Regions from separate parts of the Homo sapiens genome. Here region 2 is linked to region 1. The links are contacts of gene promoters, found by promoter capture Hi-C in blood cells and fetal thymus (Javierre and others, 2016). All regions are on one chromosome and are shown on one strand. The core of a region is centred on a gene start or on the middle of the fragment in contact, and the rest is flanking DNA. Distances in the headings are between cores, read along the strand shown. Region 1 holds the start of SERINC4 (serine incorporator 4). Region 2 overlaps TP53BP1 (tumor protein p53 binding protein 1).

Region 1 (3,725 bases), core at 1,226-3,725:
TCACCATGTTGGCCAGGCTTGTCTTCAACTCCTGACCTCATGATCCGACTGCCTCAGCCTCCCAAAGTGCTGGGATTACAGGTGTGAGCCACTGTGCCCGGGCTTTTTTTTTTTTTTTTTTTTTTGAGATGGAGTTTCACTCTTTCCCCCAGGCTGGAGTACAGTAGTACAGTAGTGTGATCTCAGCTCACTGCAACCTCTGCTTTCCAATTTCAAGCGATTCCTGCCTCAGCCTCCAGAATAGCTGGGATTATAGGCGCCCACCACCATGCCCAGCTAATTTTTCTATTTTCAGTGGAGACGGGGTTTCACATGTTGGCCAGGCTGGTCTTGAATTCCTGACCTCGTGATCTACCTGCCTCGACCTCCCAAAGTGCTGGGATTAGAGGTGTGAGCCACAGCACCCAGCCAAATTATTTTTTTTTAATCACTCAAAATCAAGCATGTTGTAGGTACCAAAATTCTAACTCAAGGTGGCCTATGAACTGGGTTCATAACCTACATCTATCTATATATATAGTGGCTCCTAGGCAGGTAGCTGGCCTTTTAGATATTCATAAGCTGTCTTGGAGACACATGCCATTTGAGTACAGTAACTCTGCTGAGACTCCAGATGTACCTTGAATACTGTTGAGAGCTAGTCAGATGAATGAGACTGGCCTGCCACCTAGCATCTGCACATGAGGTATTCTTCTACACTGATTTTTCATACAGGTGTGCTAGATTTTAATGGGTCACTTAAATTCAGTTAGTCTCCAACATATAAATTCTCCACAACATAGGATATAGTATACACTCTACTTGACCCAAGATGATAAAACTGAAAAAGACAAAAAAAAATTTTATTGCCATAAATTAATCCAGTAGGTATATTTGAGAAAGCACGCATCAGTTGGTTAGGGCAATAAGCGCCTCTACCACGTTGCCCATGTGTTCCCGCAAACTGCGTTCTGCTGCTGCTCGAGATATCTCCATCTCAGTCATCTGCAGAAAAAAATCATGTTACATAGGTTCCCAGGCATTAATGTGCCACCAAATATACTGACTCCGCTTGTTTCAGGAAACAACCCAAATTAAGCAGAATAGCCTCCCCTCCGCATACACTAGTTAGGCACTACCACTCACTATTAGCTCCAGATCTTCCTTCTTGATAGTGACTTTTGCCAGTTCTTTCTCCCTGCAAAAATATTTAAATATATTAGTCCTCATTCTCAACCAACACCATAAACTCCCAGGAAGGGTCATTCCCAGAAGTGCCCTGTAAATAAATCTTGATAAACCCTTGATTGAAAATAAAAACTCCCACTAATACTCCTTTCCCCTGGAGTCTTGGCAGCAGGTGTTGCCAGGAGGCCTTCTGCTAACAAGAGTAAAGTTGTGGCGCCTAGATCTGCAGGAATTGGTGATAAATTTGAAGAACGGTATAAAGGCTTAATAATGGTTTTTATTTTTGTCTGGGGACCGGGGAGGGAAGAACTGTTAAAGTTGGCTGCCCCTGAAGACTTACCGCTCCTGTTTGGCTTTCTGCTCCCGGGACCTTCTGTCTCCAATCACAGACATGGCCTATGGGAAAGGCAGGTCTAGTTACTGCACCGCTACCCACAATTCCCAATAATCTAAAAGGCCAACAAAACAAGCGGTTCATGCATGGATTCACGATGACAAGTGTTACCAGGTAGCAAGGACTATGTTTAATTCCATTCTATGCACCTGAGGTCCCCTTAAGCCCACTATCAAGCTCCTTTAGGCAAGCGGCGCGCTCCGGTGACCGCTGTTTCCCTCGGCTCTACCCTATTGCCTCCTCCTGCCAACGGGATCAGAACCCCGTCTTGGAGCGCTGGCTTCCAGCTACAGCCTCAGAGCCCCCCTCTGCTCTCAGCCCGCCCCGACATGCTCTTGGCCAACCTTACCGTCTCCAGATTGGAACTCTGGATCTCCTTCTCCTCTGCATAGTCGGTGACCCGCTCCAAGTCCGCCGCACCGCTGTCATGTTTCCGTGGCTTCTCCGGAGGCCGCTCTGGTCCACTGGTCTCAGTCTCCAACTCCAGCTCCACATCCCCCTCGGTCGCCATATCTATTTCACCACGCCGCCGCATAAGCCCCACCTCACGCCGACTTCCGGCAACTGACACAGCTTCCGCCCGGGGAGGAGGCGGGGCTGGCCCTGGGCCACACCTTCTTTCTGCTCCAGTTCTAGAAGCTTCAGGGAGGAAGGCGGTTCGTCTCTCAGACTTCCTTTCGGGTTTGTACAGTGTTTTGTGCGAGGCCTTCTCTCAGACCTAACCCGACACCGCTCCAGCCCACCCCACCGATATCCTTAACCACCTCATAAACTAGGAATAGTCCCCTCAACACATAAACACGCACCCACCCACCTCAGGGAACTCCGTTCAACCTGAATGACGTCTAATCCTAAACCAATAAAGAATGCTAATCCACAGGGGGCCAGATAGACAAACTGCCCCCTAATCTGGAGAGAACAGCCTGAGTGGCCGCAGTGTTGAGGCCCTAAGGACAAAGCTCCTTCACAGGGCATTTGCATTTACCGCAACCTGGAGGTCAGTGTTCTCTTCCGGACGTCTCCATTCTGCCCGGGACCGGGTGCTCAGCCCCAACACAGTGGCAGTCCAATGGGCTGAGGACAGAAGCAACTGCTGCTCTCATCTGCCTTCCATCTGGTGGACCTAAGCCTAATCCCTGGGACAAGGATGGTGGGTGCCAAGGCCGGCCCCAGCCCCGGCACCTCCCTGGGCCTGGCACAGCAGCACAGCGGAGGCAGCAGTGTCCTAGTGAAAAGTCCCTTCTGTCAGGTGAGAGGGTGCGAAGGGGAGAGTGGCCGAAGCTGGGGAGGAAGACGTGCAGAAGCCAATAAAAACGACAGGCCTCTTTTCTCCTCTAATGTCGTTCTGGTTCGTTGCCCCAGGTATAATCTGTAAATCTCTCCCGCCATGTTTCCAGCCCCAGGTGTTTAGGTCGAGAGAAAGGTCAGATATCTCAAGCCTGCTTATAATGAAAGCCCTACTAAGTTGTCAGTGGGCGGCAATCCCAAATGGCTGGAATCAGCTTGAAACAGAACCTGAGTAAAAGGAAGAAAGGGGAAGGGGAAATTTTGGAATTCAACCTCCTGGGTTAACCTCACACATACATTAACGTATGCCTTTCCTCAGCAAGTCTCCACCTCGCTGCCTTGCATCTGCTCTACTCCCAGGTGTGCTGCTGTGGGCCTGCTCCTTGTGCCAGCTGCTGCCACTCTAGGTGGCCCTCTCTCACCGCATCCACTTGCAGCCGCCTGTTCTACATCCTCCTCCATGTGGGGGCCTCAGCAATCTGCTGCCTCCTGCTGTCAAGGACAGTAGTGGAAAGGGTGTGGGGCAAGACACACAGGGTAAGTGAGAGGGGGTCGGGTTGTCAGGTGGGAAGAGATAAAAGGAAAAACCCTAAGATAGAAAAGGTTTCGGTTGGGGGCAGGAGACAAATGAGTGGTCATACCCGTGACAAGTAGGTACCTTTCCATGCATTATGACTTGTCCTGCCATTTCTCTCACACACACTCCCAGATCCAGATGCCCTCGGGGTTGTGTGCCCACCTGTTTGGCCTCTCTGACTGTCCAGTGCTCAGTGGCTCTGGGGCTGTGTACCGAGTATGTGCAGGAACCGCCACCTTCCACCTGCTGCAGGCTGTGTTGCTGGTCCACCTCCACTCCCCCACCAGCCCGCGGGCACAG
Region 2 (4,057 bases), core at 1,451-3,950, 370 kb after region 1:
GAGAGGGAGAGAGGTATGGCACTTCTTACAATTTATTGGATTGCTGTAGAAGTAAAATTCAATTCAGGTATTCTAACCTGAATAAACAGCTTCTGAGGTGTCTTAGTCTCTTTGGGCTGCTGCAACAAACTGCCATAGGCTAGATAGCTTATAAACAAAAGAATTTATTTCTCTCATTTCTGGAGGCTGAGAAGTTCTAGATCAAAGCACTGGCAGATTTGGTGTCTGGTGAGGGCCTGCTTCCTGGTTTGTAGACAGCTGTTCTCACATGGCAGTTGGGGGCAAGAGAGCTCTCTGAGGTCTCTTTTATAAGGGCACTAACCCTATTCATGAGGGCTCTGCCTCTTAATACCATCACCTTGGTGGTTAGGATTTAATGTAAGTCTTGGGGTGGAGGGGACATAGACATTTAGTCTGTAGCATGAGATAAAATTTATAAGCTTGTTTAGGATAGGAAACAACAATAATTGAATTCCTAAAATCGAGTCCTGGCTCTTCTGGCTTTTGAATCCTTTCCTTCTTGCTCAGCCATTGGTATGTTAGATGTCTTAAAGATTTAAATATGAATATTTAGTTGATATTGAAGGTGAACTGAGTCTGTTTAATTGCATTGTCTTATGCATCTAATATTGATTGAGCATCTGCTATGCTCAATATTTTACATATATGAACATTTATAAACCTCATAAGAGGTAAGTGCTACTCATGGTAGGTGTCTCCTGGTGGTCTTGTTCTTACTTCTTCTTCATTGGACCATATATTCTCATTCAGTTGAGGTTCCTGAGAGATAGGACACACACTATAACAACCAAATTTATACTAAGCTCTTCTTGGCTAGAACTCTATTTGAAATCCCTCTTTGAGCTCCTGTTCTGGTAGGCTGAGCTAAACAATATAGAAACCTCAGAAACTTCTTTTTTCCTTTTCCTTCAAGATCTAGAGCAGAGCAATCCCTGAAGAGCACTTCCTGCTTCCTTTACCCTGTCTACGTAGGAAAGCTGAGATCCTAAGGATAAGAGCTTCTGTCAAATAGGAGACAGCCCTAACTCTTTTTCTGGCCACATACTTAAATCAACATATGACATAGTTTCTAGGCCCCTTATCGTCCTTCATGTTACCTTCTGAGTTTATCTACAGTTTATGCCTTGTAAACTGTCATGCCGAGAACTGAAACAGATATTCCAGATGTGGTCTTAGCATGGTCAGTTCAGAATGGATTCCTTTTATTTTTATTCTGGCTATTGTGCGTGTAATGGAGCCTAAAACTGCATTATGTTGATTTAATCTGAGTAGATTTTGCAATTAATTGATTCAGAGAACATTCAGTCTTCTGTTCAAAGTACATGTATTAAGCATCTATTTTATATTAAGCTGTGAGTTAGGTGTTTTAAATATAAAGATAGATAAGACATGAATGTCAAATTTCTGTTGACTTGGAGTTAGCCTGGACGTTTTTATTCTGGAGAATTGTTAGGGATATTTAAGAAAGCTCCTAGTCACTTCGGAAATCGTGGTATGTGGTTTGTAGGAGACATTCAGCAAATGCTTGTGGAATAAAGGAACGAATCACTGATACCCAAATGGGATGACTTATGAAAAAAAATGGGCTGTATCTTAAGAACTGTCTTTGAGAAACCAATTCATTCTGAAATGTTTAGTTGTAGATATATCAGTATAGCTGACAAAACTAGAATCTACCTACAGCTTTATCCTTTGTAAGTCAGATTTTCTTTCCTAAAAATATTGCTCAGGTGGGGATAAACAGTATCTAGAATGCTAGGAATCAGTTAAGGAATGTTAGAACCATCATAAGGCCAGATAAGACATCTTGACTTAATTGATCTTTTTTCAAAATAGATCCCTAAGTTGCCCTTCATTGTCTATGACTTCAGTAATGGGTTTACATCTTTTTGTTTACTTCATTTTCCTGCATCAAGTTTCAGAGTTCATAGCTAGTGATGGGAAGAAATTTTATGACTCTTTTATCATCATGGTGGAATTGTTCTATCTACCATTATTTTTTTTACAGGAGTGAAATTATAATGAGAGGCCTCCCAAGGTGATAATGCTTGACTACCTGACTTTCTCCCTTCCTTACATTTCTCAAATTGTCAAAATATGGCTCCCCCCTTGCCACTACACACACACATGCACACGCACACACACACGTTCACACATACACTTGCTTAATTGACATGGCTTCTTTATATGTTGCATTTTCAGGGGGAACTTGCTCCACTTTCCAAGTTCTCAAGGAGAAGAGGAGAAAGAAAAATTGGAGGGTGACCATACAATCAGGCAGAGTCAACAGCCTATGAAGCCCATTAGTCCTGTCAAGGACCCTGTTTCTCCTGCTTCCCAGAAGATGGTCATACAAGGGCCATCCAGTCCTCAAGGAGAGGCAATGGTGACAGATGTGCTAGAAGACCAGAAAGAAGGACGGAGTACTAATAAGGAAAATCCTAGTAAGGCCTTGATTGAAAGGCCCAGCCAAAATAACATAGGAATCCAAACCATGGAGTGTTCCTTGAGGGTCCCAGAAACTGTTTCAGCAGCAACCCAGACTATAAAGAATGTGTGTGAGCAGGGGACCAGTACAGTGGACCAGAACTTTGGAAAGCAAGATGCCACAGTTCAGACTGAGAGGGGGAGTGGTGAGAAACCAGTCAGTGCTCCTGGGGATGATACAGAGTCGCTCCATAGCCAGGTGAGAGAACATACTAGGGTGCATCAGAGGCCTTGTTTTTAACTTTCAGGATTCTCAGAGAATTTAAGTTGTGGCATGTCTGCCTAATGACAATTCTTGACAGTTTTGTACAGAACAGTGGTTAAAAGACAAAAACAACTTTTCTAAGATACAGATATGGTAGTGAAATTGTGGGTAGCTATAGCCATTAGATAGTCTTTTAGGGAAAATGTAGTATTGCTACAGTTTTTTAGGTAGGTCTTTACTGGAGAAGAAAGCCAGAGATTCTGCCTGGGTCCTGTAATACTCTTCTACATTCACTCTTTTCCTTCTCCATACTTTTTATCTTGCCTTCTAACCATCAGATCTAATTTTCTCTCCCTTAAGTCTATTTCATCATGGTTCTCAGGAATTCAGAGAGTAGAAGGTAAGGGGGAAAGAAGCAGCACGAAGAATAGTGTATTTCAGTATATGAAACAGAAAGAATGGTAACAGGAATAGAGAGAGAGATGGGGAAAAGTCCCCAGGTGACCAAGAACTGCAGAAGAGAGGCTAGACTAGAAGCTAATGTGAAGAAAAGGATTGGGGCTGATGAAAACGAGGCTGGAGGAGTATCAGGTTCCAGGGAATAGAGTAGGGAAGTGTCGGTACTAGTAAAAATTAAGTAGGTGGCTGTGCCTGGTGGCACATGCCTGAAATCCCAGCGCTTTTGGAGGCTCAGGTGGGAGGATTACTTGAGCCCAGGAGTTTGAGACTAGACTGGGCAACATAGTGAGACCTTGTCTCTTAAAAAAAAAATTGAGTAGATGAAAAGAAGTCGTAGAAATGTATGTGTTAACAAATACGTAGAAGTTCACAACATTTCATTGAGTGGCAGAGTGGGATCTATGGCAGAGAAAATTTGGAAGTTACTAGTAAACAGTAGTCTCTGCTTATCAGTGGTTTCTTTTTCTTGGTGGTTTTAGTTGCCCATGGTCAGCTGCAGTCCAGAAATACTAAATGGAAAATTCTAGAAATACTAAGGTTTAAATACTGTGCTGTTCTGAGTAATGTGATAAAGTGCTGTCCCTCTTAGTCCTGGCTAGGATATGAATCCTCCCTTTTTCTAGCATATCCATATGCTATATATGCTCCCTGCCTGTTAATGACTTAGTAGCTGTCTTGGTTATCAGATCAACTCTCATGGTATTGCATTGCTTGCATTCAAGTAACCCTTGTTTTACTCTCACCCCAAAGTTTGAGAGTAGTGATGCCGGCAATCTGAATATGCCAGAGAAGTAAGTCATAAAGTGCTTCCTCTAAGTGAAAAGGTAAAAGGTCTTAATAAGGAAAGAAAAAAAATCATATGCTGAAGTTACTAAAATCTGTGGT

The links. The method cuts DNA at HindIII sites, captures the fragments that hold promoters and counts their contacts. A CHiCAGO score of 5 or more calls a contact.
Region 2: a contact is called between a fragment that was not itself captured here and the fragment with the promoter of SERINC4 in region 1, in 1 of 17 cell types (megakaryocytes). The highest score is 6.6, in megakaryocytes.

Annotation. Positions count from the first base shown.
Region 1 is chr15:43,798,970-43,802,694 of GRCh38, reverse strand. It overlaps SERINC4 (serine incorporator 4), which reads left to right and starts at 2,475. Exons shown (of 12, transcript NM_001258031.2): 1 at 2,475-2,810; 2 at 3,209-3,385; 3 at 3,558-3,725. The coding sequence starts at 2,709. HYPK (huntingtin interacting protein K) reads right to left here and starts at 2,096. Exons shown (of 4, transcript NM_016400.4): 1 at 1,911-2,096; 2 at 1,508-1,563; 3 at 1,126-1,177; 4 at 1-984. The coding sequence starts at 2,072. The coding sequence ends at 889. It overlaps SERF2-C15ORF63 (SERF2-C15orf63 readthrough), which reads right to left. Exons shown (of 6, transcript NR_037673.1): 3 at 1,911-2,200; 4 at 1,508-1,563; 5 at 1,126-1,177; 6 at 106-984. RefSeq lists enhancers at 1,820-2,069, 1,977-2,677, 2,678-3,378. The HindIII fragment of the contact is 2,702 bases long and covers 2,203-3,725 here.
Region 2 is chr15:43,430,844-43,434,900 of GRCh38, reverse strand. It overlaps TP53BP1 (tumor protein p53 binding protein 1), which reads left to right. Exons shown (of 28, transcript NM_001141980.3): 17 at 2,224-2,707. Among named protein-coding and RNA genes, the nearest start is that of TP53BP1, 60 kb to the left of the region's middle. The HindIII fragment of the contact is 4,515 bases long and covers 443-4,057 here.